Linked DNA regions of Homo sapiens: regions 1, 2, 4 and 5 are each linked to region 3. The links are contacts of gene promoters, found by promoter capture Hi-C in blood cells and fetal thymus (Javierre and others, 2016). All regions are on one chromosome and are shown on one strand. The core of a region is centred on a gene start or on the middle of the fragment in contact, and the rest is flanking DNA. Distances in the headings are between cores, read along the strand shown. Region 1 has its middle 20 kb from the start of FCRL4. Region 2 has its middle 2.7 kb from the start of FCRL4. Region 3 holds the start of FCRL2 (Fc receptor like 2). Region 4 has its middle 42 kb from the start of KIRREL1. Region 5 holds the start of FCRL5 (Fc receptor like 5).

Region 1 (3,867 bases), core at 431-2,930, 160 kb after region 3:
CCATTATTGAAATTGTTTTATTAAAGTCTTAAATTGCTATTGTTGAATTATCTATTCATACTTTTGATTCTGTCAGTTTTTGCCTCATCTTTTAAGGCTCTTTTGTTAGTTGCGTATATGTATGTTTATAATTATTATAATTCTTTATTCCTACATTGTCACCTTTTTCGTATTAAACAATTATTTTGTATGGTGTCATTTTAGTTCCTTTCTTATACTGTATATTTTGTAGTTATTTTCTAAGTGGTTTTCCTGGGGATTACAATTGACATATTAATTTATATGTACCTGAATTGTATTAATATCAGCTTAATATAAACATTAATAATATAATATATAATATTTACATAACAGAATTCATTTAACTGTCCTGAATTTAAGGTCAACATATTAAAATACATGATATATTACAACCAAATATAAAACATAACTGAAGAAGAAAAGATACAATGCACAAAACTAAATTTTTTTGAATAAATGTAAAAAGGGTTATTCTTAACTGGAGACTGTCTCTCCCTCTCTCCGTTGAACTTCTCAAAAGATTGTTAATCATTTTATCACACTCACATATTTTAGGATAGAGAGGTAGTCAAGCCTTCTTTACTCTTCTCTGTTGTATCCAGTCACAGTTTCTCCACAAAATGTTTGATACCCAGTCCTTTGAGGATATGTCTGACTATATCACACTCTACACCTCCTTATTGCAGTTATCTATCTACCAACCCCCTGGTCACTTCTCACCAAAAACAAACTCAGACATTTTCTCTAGCCAAATTCCTGTACTCACCCTGCATGACATCAGCACCCATGACTGCATCAACTAGGATACTTGGCTGCAAATAACCAGCTCTGATTCAGGGTCAGGAAGTCACCACCAGCACTGCTGGCTGCAGAGCCATGCAGTACCTTCTAAATGCACATTGATTCAAGAAAAATCAAAGACCAACACCTTTTCTCCCGACACCCACAGATATAGAGAGACACATGTGGGCCTCTGCTATGGCAGAAAATCCAGTGACACCATCGCTGTCCTTAACACAGAAGGGCAGATAAAGCAAAAGGGTGACTTCTGCCTCACTTCCAACCTCCAATCCCACCTCTGACAATGAAGTTTAAATCACATTCAGAGCCCCAGCTGCCGCAGAGCCTGGTAAATGTGGGGTTCGCTTTACTGCCTCCAGGGTAGAGGAACTCCATTGAGTACCTGCTCACTATATCTAGCACACCTCTTTTACTACCCTGCTAAAACCTCACAGATAAGCACATCAAACATTCCAGCCAGGCTCCTAAATACCTCTGTTTCACTACCACCAGGTCTTACCTACTTAGCAAATCATGAACCTTGTATTGATCCAACCTCTGCACAACACTCACACTGCCTAACAGAACACCAGTCTTCTGGATGACCTATCACAAATTCACGATACCTAACCAGAACAAAATGTTAACACCATTCAACAATCAGTTAAGTGCATGACAGCTAAAGATAATATAAACTAATAATAGCTATCACATATTGAGTGCTTCCTATGCGCCATGACTCTTCTAATCATTCTGCATGTTTTAACTCATCTAATCCTCATAAGCACTCTGTGAGATAGATGTCACTATCCCCATTTACAAATTATGAAGGAAGAGACATAGAAAGACTAAGTCATTTCTCAAGTCCTCACAACTAGGAAGTATCAGAACCAGGATTTAAATCCAGGTAGTTTGAATCCAGAGCCCACATTTTCATCTTTCTGCTGACTGCCTCTCACATTCTCTCAAACTTCCATCTGCTATGGACTGACTGAAATGCATTATCCTCCCCTCCCAAAATTCATATATTGGATCCTAAAGCCCAGTGTGATGGTGTTTGGAGATCAGACCTTTGGGAAGTAATTAGATTAGATGAGATCATGAGGGTGGAGTCTTTGTGATGGGATTAGTGGTCTCTAATAAGACGAATCTCTCTCTCTCTCTCTCTCTCTCCCCCCCACCCACCCCCAGCCCACCCCCATCACTCTCTAGCCACCATATGAGCACACAGTAAGAAGGCAGCCATCTGCAAGCCAGAGAGACCTCACCAGAACCCAACCATGCTGGCTCCCTGATCTTGGATGTCCAACCCCCAGTATTGTGAAAAAATAAATTTCTGTTGTTTAACCTATTCAGTCTATGGTGTTCTGTCATGGCAGCCTGAGCAGACTAAGACACCAACCTACCTTATCACTCATGACAAATGACAGAACCTCCCATTTTTCAGAGAAAAATGAACAGTAGAAAGTAATGTCTTCAAGTTCCTACCAGCACACTTCCCACTGACCCGCCTTTATATTCATCTGTCCTAACTCTCTCCTGTCCCCACACAAAGCAATGTGCTCCTGTTATCTAAAGTGAGTGCCTTCTCCTGTGGTTCAAGTCCCTTTTCCTCCCACTGTTTCAGGAACACTGATCTCTGATGCAGCTCCCCTTTCTCTGGTGTGTTCCATGGACCCTGCTCACTCCTTTGCTACAGCCCTTAAACATTCTCAGGACTCTCCCCTCTCAGCATCCCCTTAACCTCACCCTGCAACTATCTCCTGTTTCTTCATCTTCCATGTCACAGCTAGACTTCTACACTTGCTCCAAGACACTGAATCCTCGGACTTCCTCCACCAGCAAGTACCCCTGAGAACTCCACCAGGTGACCAGGAACCTCCCAGCATTTGGCACTGTTGACCTCTTTCTCTTTCTCTTTCTGAGAACTCTCTTCCTTGGTTTCCCTGATATCACTCTCTCCTGGATCCTGGCTCCTTTGCTGCTTCCTCTTTCTGCACCTCCATGCTCCCCTCAAGCACTGGGTCTTGTCATGAGCCGATTTTCATCTCATATTTTGTGTTCTCACTAGGACATCTACTTCCCTACTTTCAATGTTCATTCCCATGCTGCTAATGCCCACGTCTGTATCTCCACCCCCTACCCTCTGCTCAGCATCAGACCCTGCATTCAGCTCTCTACTAGACGTCTCCACTGGCACCTCACGCTCAGTGTGTTCACTGCTTTATCTTTACCTTCTAGCCTATTTCTGTGTTCTCATTCTCAGCAAATGGCCCCATCCAGGAACCTGGGTATTATCCTTGGCTCCTTCCTCTCCTGACCCCCTGGGGCAATTGATCAAGGACCTAGAATGTGTCAGATCCATTGCTAAGCACCTCACATGCAAAGGTTTCATTTTACTGTCACAATCTTAACAGAGAGGAAAGAAATAATTAAACTTTGGCTGTTTCTAGCACCTATTGGTGAGGACATTGTAGCAGAGCTCCCTAAGCCATCACACACCATCTCAGCTTCTCCACATTCTGTGGCATCTTCTTCCTCACCTCTGTCCCTAGACCCAGACCTGCTCATGGGCCCTTTTGATGTTCTTCACTTGTCCCTCATCACACTTTTTTGCAACATGGCAGGTTCTTTGTTTTATTATATGGAACTTGGAGAAAAGAAAGATGCATTATTTGTTACAGGAAATGAAAGCAGAAGCTATCATTGTGTGTGTTATCTGTCAAAAAACTGGTATTCATCTCATGGGAAAGCTTAGAATAGTTTCAGGTGATTTAAACTGGTCCTACAAAAAGGTATTAAAAATTATCCTCTTCTCTCACCTGTCCCCACCACCACCTCTATTCCTCATGCAAACAAGACAACCTGCTATATGCTCAATTTTTAATGCAAACAAACAAACAAAAAAACTTGTCTCTTTTGTCTCTTCTCTTCAATCTCCCCAGCTTAGCCTGCAGTTCCCACTGCAATAGTCAGATTCCCAGAGATCAGAGGGGAACCAGGCAAATTTATTATCCCTCATCCCCAGCCTCTTTAAAGGACACACATACATGCACCACAGACACA
Region 2 (4,117 bases), core at 646-3,145, 180 kb after region 3:
TTTTAAGATAATGGGAATTTTATACTAGAACAAGGTATGACAAGGAAAGCAGGCTCTGGTCTCCTGTTTCAAGCTTACAGCTTCCTACTTTTATTCCTGCTCGCAGCTCCATCCCATAGTACAATACATTGGAACGAGCCAGCCCGCACATCCAAGCTTCTGACACATCCCTCAAGCAGCACTGCCTTGGCCAACCCTCAGGAAAAACTGACCAAATATAGCTAAATGTTAATAACTGATAACTCTCAGTGAAGAGCAGGTAAGTATTTATTGTACTATTCTTGCCATTTTTTTGAAAGGTTTAAAATTTTTTGAAATAAAAATATTGGGGAAATGAAAGTTTTCTTGTTAACGTCTCCAAGTAACAAAATGGATTTGCCTTCAGCTACATAGCTTGTAAGTGATGAAGCAAAACCATAGCCAGGCCTTAGAGTTCAAATCTGGTGTCCATTTCACACCCTCTACTACATAACTGTGGATCTGTGAATCTGGAATAGAGGGCACTAACAACCTGCGATTCTGTTCTCACTTTGGACAAGTTTTTGAGCAAAAAGATCTGTATGTTCATGAAGATAGAAGAGTCTCGACTTAGAACAAGAAATCATCTCGGAAACGTCTCTAAAACAAAAGGAGATTATATTTTACCACTGAAGGCTAGAAATATTATTATCTGTAGTCATGGAAAATAAAATGCGGCTTCTAGATGGCACCAGCCTACAAATAAATGTAATTGAGCTTCTTCACTGCCTTTTCTTTGAAGTTCAAAGTTGATTACTCCAAGCGGCTGTTCCTCCATTACTAACAAATGGCTATAGAAATCATTACGTATACAGCCACTGATTTGGGAGAAGAGTCTTTTAATAGCAAGAACAACAAATTTATCTTTCCAGTATTTTTCCCACCCATAAAGCACTGACAAGACCACAGACTCCCTGTCACATAGTTAAAAATGTATGATTCTCCCGTAGTAGTAAAGACCATACTCAGCACTCAGATCTTGGTTTCTAAATATCAGTCTCTACTGAAAGGAATTGGGGCTCCTTGAAGAAGTGGCTGATTCTAGAGTTGGGGCAGGAAAATGTAAGATGAGCCAGGAGCATCTCGTAGTGCCAGACAGTACAGAAATGTTCCAACAAGGAAAATGATGAGAGTTTCTCAAAGGCACAAAGAAGAAGCTGACCTGAAAGAGCTCCCAATCACCAAAGCTGGATCAATTTGAGCAACAAAATATATAAAGCATTATATTGTTACCAAAGTTTAAAGTAAATATACAAATCTATAGTGATATAAATAAATGATTGAATGGATGAATACATGAATAAGTAAATAAGAACAAGGAGACAAATCCCCCTACCTCACCTCTCACCCTGACTGTGGGCTGGACTTGCTCCCAAACGAAAGAATATAGAAAAAGACAAACAGTAATTTTACATCGAAGAAACCTGGCAAACACTACCTTAACCAAGTGATCACAATTTACATTACCAGTGATAAGTCATGTTGAGATTCCATACCCCCAATGTGATGAGAAGGACACTCTACCGCTGTAGTATTCTTTGTGAAAACTCATAACCCCAGTTTAATTATGACCAAAACGTCAGACAAACCCAGATTGAAAGACGCCGCAAACTACCTAGCCAGTACTCCTCAAAACTGTCAAGGTCATGAAAAACAAGGAAACACTGAGAAACTCACAGATGGAGAAGAGACGTCTGTGAGCAAAGATAGCTAAATGTAATGTAGTATCTTAGAGGGGATACTAGAAGAGGAAAAAGGTGTCAATGGAAAACTGAAACAAGCTGGATAAAGCCTGTAATTAATAGTAATGTAGAGACGGAGCAAAGATAACTAAATGTAATGTAGTATCTTAGAAGGGATACTAGAAGAGGAAAAAGGTATCAATGGAAAAACTGAAAAAAGCTGGATAAAGCCTGTAATTAATAGTAATGTAGAGACGGAGCAAAGATAACTAAATGTAATGTAGTATCTTAGAAGGGATACTAGAAGAGGAAAAAGGTATCAATGGAAAAACTGAAAAAAGCTGGATAAAGCCTGTAATTAATAGTAATGTAGCAATCTTGGTTTCTTAGTTTTGATAAATGCACCCCCATGATGTGAAATGATAACGGTAGGGGAAATTGAAACAGGTGAGGGCTTCCTATATGGGAACTCTTTGTATTATCCTTACTATTTTATATAAATCTAGAATTACCCCAAAATGAAAATTTATTTTTTAAACTGTAAAGGTTTAAATGTTTTTCAAAAAAAAATTAGAAAAGTTTAAAAATTTCAGTTTCTTACATTCTCATTGAAAACAATTATTTTTGTCCTTTGTTAATATAAAATCTAAAAGTTCCTGGTTAGTCAAGCAATTGCTTAATAAATCATGGTATATGTACTTCCTGGCTGATGTTTCAAAGTACTAACCACACTTCTGGCACCAATAACTAAAATATTTCTGTCAGTGACTTAAATACCACAACAAAAATAGTACTTGACTGACGTAAACTTAAACATTTACACAGTAGTTGTAAATAAATATGATTTTTGTGTTTGGACATCTTGTATAACATCATAAATGTGAAATTTTATTTTGCTAATTGAAATCTATTCATTCAGCAAAACTTATGGTAGAAACAAGAAAACAGGCAATATGATTTCAACTTCCCTCAATCCTTAGTCAGTCAATAAATATTGGAGTTCTAAACTCATGCTAAATACTATTTTCCAGTGTTATAAGGAATACAAAAATGTTGGTAGGATATTATGTCAATTATAAAGTGCTTTTTAGTTCATTATACTTGTTACTTCTAGTATTACAGAATAGTTCTCAGCATAGGGACTAAGCTGAGAGTTCTATGTCATTAATGTATTCATACAAACATCAATAACAACATCCACTTCAGCTGGACATTATTTTTATCTCCTTTTTACCAGTGTGAAAGAGGCTAAGTACTTGACCAGAGTCACCCAACTAGCAAGAGGTGAAGTCAAGATTTCATCCAGATGTGTGGGATTCTGCAGATCAGGTTCTTGACTGCCATTTTATACCCTTGCTCCTCCTGGGACAAATGAAGGCAGCTGAAAGATGACAGCACGGTCACACGGCAAGGAGACAAAGGACCCATGTGCCGCCTTGACAGCTCTATGTCTTTATGGTTCCTTGTGTCTATGTCTACTCTGGCCCTTACCACATTGACTTTTTTAAAGTCTTTAAGAGAGATGCACTTTATTCACCTTTTTATTCTTCTAAGGCCATGGACATTGTCTAAAATATAGTTGATGTTCAATACAAACCCTAGTTAGAAAATAAATTATTACAGATATATAGAAAAACATTATATTAGAAAAATACAGACCACTCTTAATCCATCCTATGTCTATTATCTATTCACAGATATCTTGATGTGATGGTGATGGTCACGATAACTGCCTTCCATCTTAGTGCATGCTCATCTCTCAGTCCTAGAATGATATTCTTTCAGCTTGGATGTTACTTCCTCAGGGAAGCCTCTTATGCATCCCCAGAACTGGGTCAGATTTCCCTCTTAGTGGACTCTCAGAAATTACATACAATTCACTTCTATGTAATTTCCTGTTGACTTGCTGTCTTCTCCACCAGAATGAAAGCTTTCCAAGTCTTGATTAACACTGTACTTCCAGCACCTGGCACCATACCTGAAGCACCATGGTGTTTCTTTTTTTTTGCCATTAACATTTTATATATATATATATATATATATATATATATATATATATATATACACATACATATACACAAGATAATAGCATAAAAAAGTTTTAAAGAGTTATACATACCAAAATATTATACGTACCAAAAAACGTCACTACGGATTTTTCCATTTTTTTCTTAATTTTTTTTTTAAGTTCTGGGATACATGAGCAGAGTGTGCAGGTTTGTTATGGGTAGGGAGAGCATTAGGTGTTTCTCAAAACACCAAACAGCATGTTGCCCAGTGTGAAAGAATCCAAATGGCAAAAATCAAAATTTAATAGAATTATTTAAATACCCACTCTGACTTCCTGACGTGAATCGCTTCTCAAGGCTAAAGCCATCATATTTTCAGAACTCTCTAGCCTCTTGTCTTTCAAGGAA
Region 3 (4,131 bases), core at 964-3,463:
AGTAGGCAAGATTTGATGATCAGTGACTAGCTTTGGTCCTGGGAAAGAGTAACTTACACTTTCAAACACATACAAACCGTTTGCCTATGCAGAAAGTTAAAGTAGTATTGTTTTCAACACTTTAAGATGAGAGAGGCCATAAAACCTAGTTTCTTATAATGAATCTTTAAAAAGTACGTAAATAGCATATGTTTATTGTAAGAATACTAGAATACACAGATAAGCAAAATAAGGAAAATAAAAATCAGCTTTAATTAGATTTTTTGGATATAATTACAGTAACTCTGTGGTGCGAATTGTCTCAGACACTTTTTATTGGAGAGCAGGGGATAATGTGCAGCAGATAAAGTGCACTCTGCAGCCACTTTTTTCTTTTCTTTTCTTTTCTTTTTTTTTTTTGAGACGGAGTCTTGCTCTGTCACCCAAGCTGGAGTGCAGTGGCACGATCTCGGCTCACTGCAAGCTCTGCCTCCCGGGTTTGTACCATTCTCCTGCCTCAGCCTCCCAAACAGCTGGGACTACAGGCACCTGCCACCACGCCCGGCTAATTTTTTGTATTTTTAGTTGAGATGGGGTTTCACCGTGTTAGCCAGGATGGTCTTGATCTCCTGACCTCGTGATCCGCCCGCCTCAGCCTCCCAAAGTGCTGAGATTACAGGCGTGAGCCACCGCACCCAGCCCACTTTTTTCTTAATCATATATCCTAGACATCTTATCTTGCTATTAAATATTATTCCACAGAATTATTTTAATGGCTGTTTGGTTTTCCACAGCATTTGACACATAACTTATTTTTAACACACATCTCTCCTTGTGATATATTTTTAGTATTTTCTTTTTACATTATTATAAGCAAGGCTTTAATGACCATCACATATAAATATTAGCCTTTCTCAAAGTAAAACTATGATAATAGTGAGAATAAAATGTTAAGTATCCAATTGTTAAAAATTCAATGTTAAGTATTCAGGTAAATGTTAAGTACCTGAACAGGTAACATTGAGTCTATGAATATTTTCAGTCAGTCCCTCATTTATAAGCACCTGTGATTTTTTGGTTTAGAGTTTCATCCTGCATAAGGTTCACTGATGAGACAACATCTACTGGGACTACATCTAATCAAAGTGAGCATGATAATAGGTGTTCACATAACACGCGCTTTGCTTTGTGTGAGATAACTGTATTAGGATCAGCCTGGGGTACAAAAAGCAATGCAGATTAGAAATAGGCAATGTTGTGATTACAGATTAGAAAGATGGCAATGTTTTCAGCAATATAGTGCAAGTGTTTTGAAGTTTAGTAAAATCTCATTCTAGAAAGTCATCGAATGACTACGAAAAATTTTACTTAAGAAATATGAGCTATTGAAACAATGGCCTTATTATTTTATGAACCTTGAGAAGCAATATATCAAGATAATAGGGCACAATGTTTAAGAGCCAGACTGTGACACTGGGCTGCCTGGGTTTGAATCCCAGATCTGTTACTACTAGAAATTGATTAAGCTGATCTTGGTCATTTTACTGGCTGCTATCATCTGAATGTTTGTGTCCTGGCAAAATTCTTATGTTGATACTTAATCCTCAATGCAATAGTAATAAAAGGTACCCACCTTTTATTACATGACCTTTTAGGGGTCATGAGTGTGGAACTCTTATGAAAAGGATTAGTCTCCTTGTAAAAGAGGCTTGAGGGAGCTTGTTTGCTCCTTCCATCATGTGAAGACACATAGAGGACACCATCTATGAGAAACAGGCCCTCATCAGACACTGAATCTACTGGTGCCTTGATCTTAAACTTCCCAGCCTCTTGAACTATGAGTGATAAATTTATGTTGTTTATAAATTTCTCAGTCTAAGGTATTCTTTATAGCAGCCCCAATGGACTAAGACACTTACCTTTACTAGTGCCTCAATTTCCTTATTCATGTGAAAGGGGATAGTGCCAATTCAGAAACTTGCTGAAGGTAATAAATAACTCTGTAAGCATGAGGCACTTAGAACTGTGTCTGACTCATTGCAACCCATATGTAAATGCTAGGTATCATAATGAGGGTCAAGTTACAAAATTTCTCTGGCATTGAGAGGATCAGCTATAATTGTTTTAGCCCTTCCAGGACAAAGATAATGGTTAAACATAGTGGCACTATTCTACTTCCTTTTTTGCTAATTATACAAAACCTATTCTGAAAACCACATTTCATCGCCTGCTCAGAGTCTCCAGTTGGTGACCAAGAGTACATCTCTTTTCAAATAGCTGGATTAGGTCCTCATGCTGCTGTGGTCATTGCTGGTCATCTTTGGTGAGTTCAATAATTTGACTGAGAAGTGAGGTGGCAGCTGAATGAGGTCTACTGCTCCCAAAAGGTTGGAGGTTTTATTGGAGCCCAGGGACTGGTGGGGATGCTCAGGTCCTGCCTGCAGCTTGGGCTTCAAAGGCAGATGCAAAGAAGTAGGCTGAGGACAGTGAATTTGCAGCACATCCATTAAGCATTAAGCACAATGCTTAATGTTCAAGGTGGACCACTTTTCCATTTGCTGGTCATGAATTGCTATTTTGATATCTTAGATCTCATTGAGTAATATAATGTTCTCATAGTAAAATGTTCATAATATTAGCATTTAGCAATGCCCTTCTCCTCCATGAACACCGATTATTCAATTGTTATCTATAAGATTTGGGTTCAGCAGATGCATTGAGACCCTTTGCTAATATTCCTCTGTTTAATCGTGGACAATGAGGGAGATGACAGCTGCTGCTAGAAAATAAGATTCCTGGGTGAGTGCAGTGGCTCATACCTGTAATCCTAGCACTTTGGGAGTCCAAGGCTGGTGGATCACTTGAGGTCAGAGTTCGAGACCACCCCGGCCAACATGGTGAAACCTCATCTCTACTAAAAATACAAAAATTAGCCAGGCGTGGTGGTGGGCACCTGTAATTCCAGCTACTCGGGAAGCTGAGGCAGGAGAATTGCTTGAACCCGGGAGGTGGAGGTTGTGGTGAGCCAAGATCGCACCATTGTACTCCAGCCTGGGTGAGAGAGTAAATAAGATCCCTTTCTCTATGCTGTGTAGGCACTAAATAAATATTTGTTATTGGAATACAAAGGGCTCTAACGTGAAATATGGCCATAGGAAAGAGACTGATTTGTTGATTTCTTGGAACTCTCACAATGTATGTTTCCTGATGAGCCCTTTGTGATCGTGTTGTCATGTCTATCTACCACTTGAAAAGTCAGAGTGTGAGATAGAGTGGTGGGGATGGTGGAAGGAAAATGAAATCAAGGAGAGTCACTAAATATCCAACATGGGTATTCTCGACAATCCCTTTAGTCAAGCATTGGGTTTGCAACTTGCCTTTTGACTACAATGAATGACAGTTAGATGTGTGCTCGAGGGAGATTGAATTGTTAGTAATAAGAGATTAGGGAAATAGAAAAGAAAGGGAAAATGGAAAGAAGTTTTTGAGCAATTTACCAGAGTAATATAAATTTATAAATTATGAGGGCAAATGCTGTGTGCTAATCTCTGGCTTTTGATCTCCTCACAGATGCAGTCACTGAACAGGCAGGTGAGTCCTCCTTGTCTTTGTTGTTCTTGGTCTCTGGCATATCAGTCACCCCACTACCCCAGGATTCTATAGAGGTGGCTCTGGAAAGCCTGTGAAGATGTCCTAATATTACTGCCCTCTAGGCTGACATGTTCTGAGGTCACGCAGCCTGTTTCCAACACCACTTGCATGTCTGGGTGACCAGGTACCACCTAGCCTTCTCAAGACCCCACATGCTTGCCTCTTCCTTAAAAGCCTGGCTTTAAGAAGGGCAATAACATGCAGATTGAAGAAAAGAACAATTTGGAGAGAATTGTTTTCCTGCCCATAGGACTGTAATGCCTCTTTATTGTCTGGCTGAATGCTGAATGTTTTTACAGCTCTGAAAACAGCTATTTATAGAGGAATGTGTCAGAACTACAAACTTCTGCAGGGTCAGAATAAACATGTGTCCTCATTGCTTCTCTAGCTCTAGCTCAGGAATCAGCAAGCTTTTCCTGTAAAAGGCAAGAGAGTAAATAGGCTAAGCTTTTCAGGTGTGTGCCGTAACTACTCAATGCCATTGCTGTGGTAGCAGGAAAA
Region 4 (3,951 bases), core at 1,402-3,901, 170 kb before region 3:
TATCTACTTAGAACAATGACTGATCTCTGGGATCTTGAAAGTGCTGTGTTTACCTCCACCATAACACTTTTTTTTTTTTTTTGAGACACAGTCTCACTCTGTCACCCAGGCAGGAGTGCAGTGGTGCAATCTTGGCTCACTGCAACCTCCGCCTTCCAGGTTCAAGTGATTCTCCTGCCTCAGTCTCCTGAGTAGCAGAGACTACAGGCATGCACCACCATGCCTGGCTAATTTCTGTTTTTTTTCAATAGAGATGGGGTTTCGCCATGTTGGTCAGGCTGGTCTCAAACTCCTGACCTCAGGTGATCTGCCTGCCTTGGCCTCCCAAAGTGCTGATTACAGGTGTGAGTCACTGCGCCCAGTCCTAAAATAAAATTTTTCCCCTACTAGAAAAATAATAAATGCTAATTACAGAAATATTGGGAATACTGAATAGTAGGGAAAACAGAGCACTCTTGTCTCAGCAGCTGAAAATAAGCAAAATTAATATTTCAGTATATTTCCTACCAGTCTATTTACAGTACAAATTTTAATTTAATTTAATTGTGCTCATGTGGTAAACATAAAATTGTACATGTTGATATATATGAATACACTAGCTAGTCAAGCATATTAGAGAAAACACCTATAAATACAGAACAAAATACAAAGAAGGAAAAAGTAGCATTTTAGAATTCCACACCAAGAAACAACCTAGTTACATTTTAGTATATTTTCATAAAACCTCAAAAATTACCTGTTTGCATAATCTCACACTATGTGTCTTGAATTTTAATCATAGTTAACAAAGGAACACTCGTAAAATTTAGTTGGCAGATTTTACGTAAATGTTTTAGTGACATGCATTTTCCACCTGGTGGTTTATTAGTCTTGTTTAATTAAAAAATGATTCAGGCTATACTGATTGGCTTTGAAGATGTAGAAAGTCATTAATAATATTCTTTAGTAATGAAAATAGTCATTATGCTCTTTTGTGCACTTCTGCTTTGAGAAATGGAAGAAAGGGGGTGAAAACAAAGATTTTTAGTTTAATAACTATCTTGGCTCGGCATCCCAACCATACAAATTGTTTGGCCATGCTAATCAAAGTTGGAACAGACCCAGTTAGTGTTTTATGTAGTCTTTTATCAAATTGGCAAGAGATTATCTGTAAACTGTTTTTTTTTTTTTTTTTCGTTGGGAGGGGGAAGCACAATCAAAATAGAATCTACAGGAAAGCAGAAGACAATCTTGGGAACTATACAGGGCCGGACTTTGACCTCAGGCTGGCAAAGCTACTTGATAGCACATTGTTCCATTGTTTCTCTTGGTTTTGAGTCTAATTTTAGTAAGGGAAGATCCATCAGTCTTTCATTCCATGACATCTCCATTCTCTACTTTTAAACTTTGCTTTCTCTCTTATTGACTGGAGAATATGTTCAAGTGATTTGTTTCAAGATTAGCCGATGCATGACAGGTGTATGTTCTGAACCCTTTCATTTCTGATGTTTGCTTTTTTCCTTCTTTCCCACATAAAGGGAGCAATTTGGTTGGGCACACATTCTTGGGGGATAACTCTTTTTCCACAGTACTCTAGATCCTTTCCATTGAAAACTAAGTGTAGAGAAATCTGAAGTCAGCCTTCAAGAGAGTTCTTTTGGTGAAAAGATTGATGATGGTGGTGGGTGGGCCTCACTGTCACTTCTCAGAAGGCAGCTCCCACACAGTAGAAGTGGATGTCCAGGTCTCTGGTATAGATTCAGCATTTTGTAACTGGGTGAGGGGAGTGTGATATGGAGATGGGAAAGTGACCTTTTCTATTTACTTTCAGATAAGCCACCTGCTCTGTTTTTTCCAACATACCCAAGGTGTCCCTCTCTTCTGTTCTTTTTTTCTTTTTTCAGTTCAATTCTAATGACCTTAAAGTTCATGGAAATTCCTTTTGCCTCTGACAATAGTTGATTTTTAAAAGTCCTCATTTTTAGTGTCATTATTATGTTTGTCTTTTCCTGGAACTTTATAGATATTTCATGTGAAGCTTTAAGAGACAAGGCTAGGAGTGTCTAGCCAGATTTTATTTTAATTCATAAGTTTAGCTATGACATTCAATAGGTTTAATCAACCTTCCATAAAGCTATCATTTGGTTTCAGAAGGAAGGCTCTCAGAGCTACAAAGAGAAATGAGTTTTGAGCCATGTAAGGGTGGGGGCAAGCACATGTGGTGGTTCCTAGATCCAGAGTTGCTAGACTGTTCTATCTCACTTTTTTTTCTATTGTATTCCATCTCACTGGATGGTCTGTTAGGAAGAAACATAAATAGCACCTCAGCTGACAGGGTGATTTCTCTCTGTCATTATCCTTAAGCAGAAGATGGTTCTATGTGGCTCACAGGTTCAGCACACAAACCATGTCAGTAATGGTGTGAGTGCAACAGCATTAAAGCCACAATGGAAAGAGGGCTTGTATCAGTTCAGGTCCTCTGGGAAGCAGTTACTAAAGACGGTCAAGAGATTGTAAGGTCAAGAGATTTTGAAAGATGGGAGAGAGGGAACAAAAGGAGTCAGGGAAAGTCTTCAGATAGTGATATGGGTCTGATGCCTGTAAAATGAGACGGGGAGGCAAGAGGGTTGGGAAAGAAGAGACTTTGACCCTGATGCAGCTCTGAGGAAGTCTCATCCAGCCCAGTGGGAAGCTCCAGGGAGTTTGCCAGTAGAGGAGTCTATGTTAGGAGAATGGCCATGTGGAGCAGAAAGTACCCCTGCTGTCCCGCCGTGCTCAGTGGCCGAGGCTGCCTGGGGAGACTTTAGCTTTGGTTCAAACATTGCAGCAGATCCTGAAGGTGATGTAGCTGGAGGCTGATAGCTAAGTACACTCCTGAAGCAGGGTCTTCCTTGAAGGGAGATCTGACTGGTGCACCATTATGGCTGCCACAAGGCCCCTTCCACACTCTCCAGGAGGGACCAGGAGTGTTACCCGTCCTAAGCAGATGATGCACAAGGCAACTTAGCTCCTGTGGCTGGATGAAAACTGAGCAGGTCCATTCACAGGAGAGCCCGGCAACTGCTCTTTGGCAAAGCTGAATGGGCAACCCTGAGCAGATTGTCTCCAGGGGATGTGACCTTCAGCTTCAAGTGATTTTGAATGTGTGCTTGAATGGGCCCCCAGAACAGCACAGAGCCCAGCCTAAGGGTCAACTTATTTTTGAGCAAACATTTCAAATCTCCATCCACAATTATTGAATAGCTACAATGAGGCAGATCTTGTCCTAGTTACAGGTGATATAGGAGAGGACAAGAGGAAGCTTCTGTCCTTGGTTTGCCTATAGTCTAGTGATGGAGAAATAATATTAAAAACTAAGAATGGTGATAAGCACAACTAGCATTTGTGAACAATATTAGGGATCAGATAGGAAAGGGAAGTTGAGAGAACTTCATCTGTTCCCTCTTTGGAAATAAAGTATGAAAAGAATGAGTCTTGGATCTTGAAAGGTCCCAGAGCAGAGTGGTCCAGGATGTAGCCTCTGGTCGGTCCCACTGACTTCCATTAGAGTGGAAGTTCGGCATGGGGCGTCATGATGGGCATAGGGAGCAGAACAGACAGGCATCTGGGTCTCTCTCTACTCCACCCTGGTTGGGGATGGAGAAGAATGGGGTGAAATCAGTAGAGAGATTTAGAAAACACATCAGGTCTCCTTCCACTGACCTCTTTCTTGGCTTCTGCCTCATGGAGCTCTTCCCTTTTCCTTCCCTCAGTCCTCTAACATGGATGATCGGGGCTGGACCTGTCTAGGTATGGAAACATGGTCTCCTGTCTACAAGTCATTGACTAGTCCTGCTGTATCTGGACCACGGTTGCTGGGGAGACCCTTCCTTCCTTCCTTCCTTCCCTCCTTCCCTCCCTCCCTACCTCCCTCCCTCTGTTTCCCCTCCTCTCCCCTCCCCTTCTCTTTCTTTTTTTGATGGATTTTTGCTC
Region 5 (4,071 bases), core at 354-2,853, 220 kb after region 3:
GCTCTTATAAATATAAAATAAATGGTAAAAAATAAAGTTTCTAGAAGATAACCTGGGAGAGTATCTTTATGATCTTGGAGTAGACTAACTTTCTTAGAAGGGATGCAAAAATCTCTAACCACAAAGGAGAAGACTGATAAACTGGACTATGTCAAAGTTAGAATGGTTGTTCATCAAAAGGCACTATCAATGAGCAAAGAAGCAAGCCACAGATTGAAGGAAGACATTTGCAATACATATATCCAACAAAAGGTTTATATTCAGGGTTTAAAATAACTACAAAACAGGAAAAGAAAGACTGAAAGTTAAGAGAAAAATGAGGAAATATTTGAACAGAGATTGCACATAAAAAGGATATCTACATCACCAATTAGACTATGAAAAAATGCTCATTCTCAAATTCACCAGAGACATACAAATTAAAACCACATTGAGATAATTCTAGCAGAACGGCCAGATTTTACTAGATGACAATACCAATATCAGCAAGAATTTTAGAACAATGATAACTCTCATACATTGGTTGGTGGGTGTGGTGGGAATTGGCACAACCACTTTGGAAAATAATTTGGTAATACTTCCTAAACTGAATATATGCATACCTTATGAGCCAGGACTTCCACTCCCAGATATATACCCAACAGAATTATGTGCGCATATGCCCCAATAAATGTATACAAGAATGTTCATAGCAGCACTATTTGTTTTAGCACCAAAAGTAGGTAAAGATTCTGTGTTCCCTTTGAAGTTCTCCTCTTAATCTCTATTCACCCCTGTAACCCCTGTATGGTTTTCTTGCCTCAGGGTGCAGTGGGTCAGATGTGACATAATATACCTAAGGTGATGTGCATTTGTAGATATAAAATTAAATGCCCCCTTAGGAAGACCAAGGTATGGGCCCAGAGAGAAAGGGTGAGAAAATATTTGAAAGAAAGAAACTGGCACTCCTCGTGGCAGCTAATGTCTTAGGAACCTCTGTTGACCAGTATACCAGGATGGAAACTTGACTTTTAGAAAATCATAAGAGCTATACATTCACCTGGTAATTTTTTAAAAAATCAAACGGTACAGAAATACATAAAATAAATTGTGTTCTTCCCACCTATTGCTCCTCAAACATAATCAATATTTTTGTGTGTACTTTCCAGGAAAAGAAGAAAGTATACTTAAAAGAGTTGATGTACACATATATCCTATTTTTTATATTTACCCAATGGGATAATACTACAAAACCAATCTATATCTCACTTTTATTCTCTTCACATCAAACAAGGTGGTCTTCCCTTCTTGGCATGTTCAGATTTACCTTATTCTTTAATGATTGCTTGTCACCATACGGATGAATCAGAATATTCTTAAACAGTCCCCATATCATGGTTTTTTGTTTTGTTTCCAGTGTTTAGGCAATAATGAATGCTACAATAAACGTTCTTATAGTACTCTCTTCAGATACTTCCTTCAGGGTAATTTCCCAATAGCAAAAATGTAGGGTCAAGGGTATTTGATTTTTTAAAACCTTAACTTTTTTTTTTCTTTGATCATCGGGTAGGAAACTGTGATTAGCAGCTGAAGACGGGTACTCCCACTTCCTTTTTTCAATTCACTAATGCATTCTGCTCTTTTTGAGAGCACAGCTTCTCAGATGTGCTCCTTGGAGCTGGTGTGCAGTGTCCTGACTGTAAGATCAAGTCCAAACCTGTTTTGGAATTGAGGAAACTTCTCTTTTGATCTCAGCCCTTGGTGGTCCAGGTCTTCATGCTGCTGTGGGTGATATTACTGGTCCTGGGTGAGTAAAAGGGCTCACCATGGGCCCTGGGTGGGATCGGGACAGCTTCTCTCTCCACCGCAGGCCTGGTCCTTTCTTGGGGCTCAGCCCCTGCTGAGAGACTCTCTCCTACATTAGGAGACTGTATTTTTGAACTTTACTCTGTAGCTCAGGGCTTTCTCTTGAGGCTGAAGAAAATGGCCACAGCTGGAAGGAATTTTCAATCTTACAGAGTAGGAAACCACAATAACCACAACAATTAAAATTTCATTTATTTTTTTCTTTAAAAAGTACTTCTTAAAGTCCAGAGAATGTTTCATGTTTGTTTGTTCATATTGTCTTACTCATAGAAGAGCCCACTCTCCTCTCTGCAGAGGAGATGTATTTATTCCTTGTATGACAAGGCCAGATCCTGGTCCCCAGCATAAGAGGCAAGGTTTCTAACGGGAAAGACAGGTCTTTCTCTTGTACATAATTGCAAACCACTGCAGCAATTGGCTGATTAAGAACATGGGGTGGAGGAGGTCGCAGAGGCGTAGGTGGACAAAGCAAGGATAAATCTAAAGCATATGACTTTCTCTTTGTCCCTGTGGGTGTACGTAAGTCTCTATCAACTCATATGTGCGAACTGGTTGATTTTTACTAAAGGTTAAATATTATAATTAAATATGTTTATTTATTTGTTCAGCAAATGTGTTTAGTAATATCTATGCACAGGTGCTGAGCAATTAGAGTCCATAGGAGACACTACGTCTATGTTCTGGAAAGTCATGACATAGAAGGGCTCCCAGCAAGGCCAATGTACTTTCAAGCAGCTATGCAACAAGCTCCCAGTTAAATAATTGTCCAGGCAAAGTTACCAATGAATGCTGTAGGCAGATAATAAACTGTATTCAAAATAGCTAGTAAAGACTTCATGAAACTTAGAGGTGAGTAGGAGCTAGAGGAGCAGAAATGGAGCAGGCGTGATATAAGAAAAGAGGACCTCACAGTTGGAAGGTGCATGGACTATAATTCCTGAAGTAGGAATACATCTCAGTGTGGCCCCACACAATGTGGGTAATGGCCAGGTCCTGAGCATGAGAGGGCAAAGTTTATAACATGGGCTCTGGGGTCAAACAGGATCTAGGTTCAAACTTCATCTTGCCACCTACTGGCTACCAGATTCCTGGTCTACAAAATGCAGTTAATCCTAGTGCTTACCTCACAGGATTATTGACATGGTTATATGAAATAACCTACGTAAATGCAGACCATATAGAAACCACTCACAAAAATATTAGCTTCATTTAAAACAATGCAAAGATGAAGGAAGCCAAAATATTCAGGTGAATGGTGAATAATTTGTTGTTCTCAGTAAAACACTTAAGTTTGGATAAGTCTCCAATAGCCTCATGTGGACAGGGATGATTTGTCTCTCACACACTCCTGGATTTCTATTGCCTTGCTCTGGAGTATGATTGGCATTCCAAAAATCTGTTGAATAAATAAATCAACCCATATGCAGAATACCTACTCAATTGATAAACCTGCCAGTTTTGTGTCCTCTCTCTCTTCATTACCCATTTCTCAAATCTCTATCCTTCTATTCCTATATTATTAACCTAGTTCTTTAATTAATTCATTATACAACACAAATATATTTAGTGAACATTAAAGGAATATCTTTTATATGCCATTCACCGTTATAGGTCCTGGAGGATATATGGTGAACATAAGGAAAGTCCTAGGTCTCATAGAGCTTGCATTATAGAGAAGGGAAAATAAACAAGCAGATAATGAAGATAATTTGGATAAATACTCTGACAAAAATTACACATTACCATCTCTTGGGCTGAGCATCAGGTCTAAATAATCTGAGCATCAGTTGATTGTTTAAAAATTAGGCATGATGATAATGAGCCCTTGGATTCAATGATCTCATGAAAAGAGTATAGCCTGGAGTCTGGTGCCCAAGGGAGGCTTAATTCATGTCCATTTCCTTGCCCTGCCTTCTAATCAGTCTCCCTGCTTCATATTGTCCCATTAAATTCTGTCCACTGACAGAGTGCTCCATCAAAGTCTGAAATTCTAACCTTGTCAATCTCCTCCTTGAAACCATTCCATGACTCCTTATCACTTTTATAATAAAATTAGAACCACTTACTCAGGCCCTGCATGCTTCTCTGGTCTTATTTCCCCCAACACTCCCAGTTCCTGAGCACCAATGTCATTTCTCCACTTCTGTGCCCTTTCTACCTTGAAAGGTAGAAATCGCCTCTTACCACACACAAATGCTAACATCCACCTGCAGACTCATGTTCTCA

Evidence for each region. Contacts are between HindIII fragments. The CHiCAGO score rates a contact against its expected background, and 5 or more counts as called.
Region 1: a fragment that was not itself captured here is called in contact with the fragment with the promoter of FCRL2 in region 3 in 1 of 17 cell types (total B cells); the score reaches 6.1 in total B cells.
Region 2: a fragment that was not itself captured here is called in contact with the fragment with the promoter of FCRL2 in region 3 in 1 of 17 cell types (total B cells); the score reaches 7.1 in total B cells.
Region 4: a contact is called between a fragment that was not itself captured here and the fragment with the promoter of FCRL2 in region 3, in 1 of 17 cell types (naive B cells). The highest score is 5.4, in naive B cells.
Region 5: a contact is called between the fragment with the promoter of FCRL5 here and the fragment with the promoter of FCRL2 in region 3, in 1 of 17 cell types (total B cells). The highest score is 5.6, in total B cells.

What each region holds. Positions count from the first base shown.
Region 1 is chr1:157,615,846-157,619,712 of GRCh38, reverse strand. No RefSeq gene overlaps it. Among named protein-coding and RNA genes, the nearest start is that of FCRL4, 20 kb to the right of the region's middle. The HindIII fragment of the contact is 3,753 bases long and covers 1-3,556 here.
Region 2 is chr1:157,598,741-157,602,857 of GRCh38, reverse strand. No RefSeq gene overlaps it. Among named protein-coding and RNA genes, the nearest start is that of FCRL4, 2.7 kb to the right of the region's middle. The HindIII fragment of the contact is 3,474 bases long and covers 159-3,632 here.
Region 3 is chr1:157,775,214-157,779,344 of GRCh38, reverse strand. FCRL2 (Fc receptor like 2) reads left to right here and starts at 2,213. Exons shown (of 12, transcript NM_030764.4): 1 at 2,213-2,302; 2 at 3,550-3,570. The coding sequence starts at 2,272. The HindIII fragment of the contact is 5,936 bases long and covers 1-4,042 here.
Region 4 is chr1:157,950,104-157,954,054 of GRCh38, reverse strand. No RefSeq gene overlaps it. Among named protein-coding and RNA genes, the nearest start is that of KIRREL1, 42 kb to the left of the region's middle. The HindIII fragment of the contact is 1,263 bases long and covers 2,020-3,282 here.
Region 5 is chr1:157,550,047-157,554,117 of GRCh38, reverse strand. FCRL5 (Fc receptor like 5) reads left to right here and starts at 1,603. Exons shown (of 17, transcript NM_031281.3): 1 at 1,603-1,786. The coding sequence starts at 1,756. The HindIII fragment of the contact is 25,493 bases long and covers 1-4,071 here.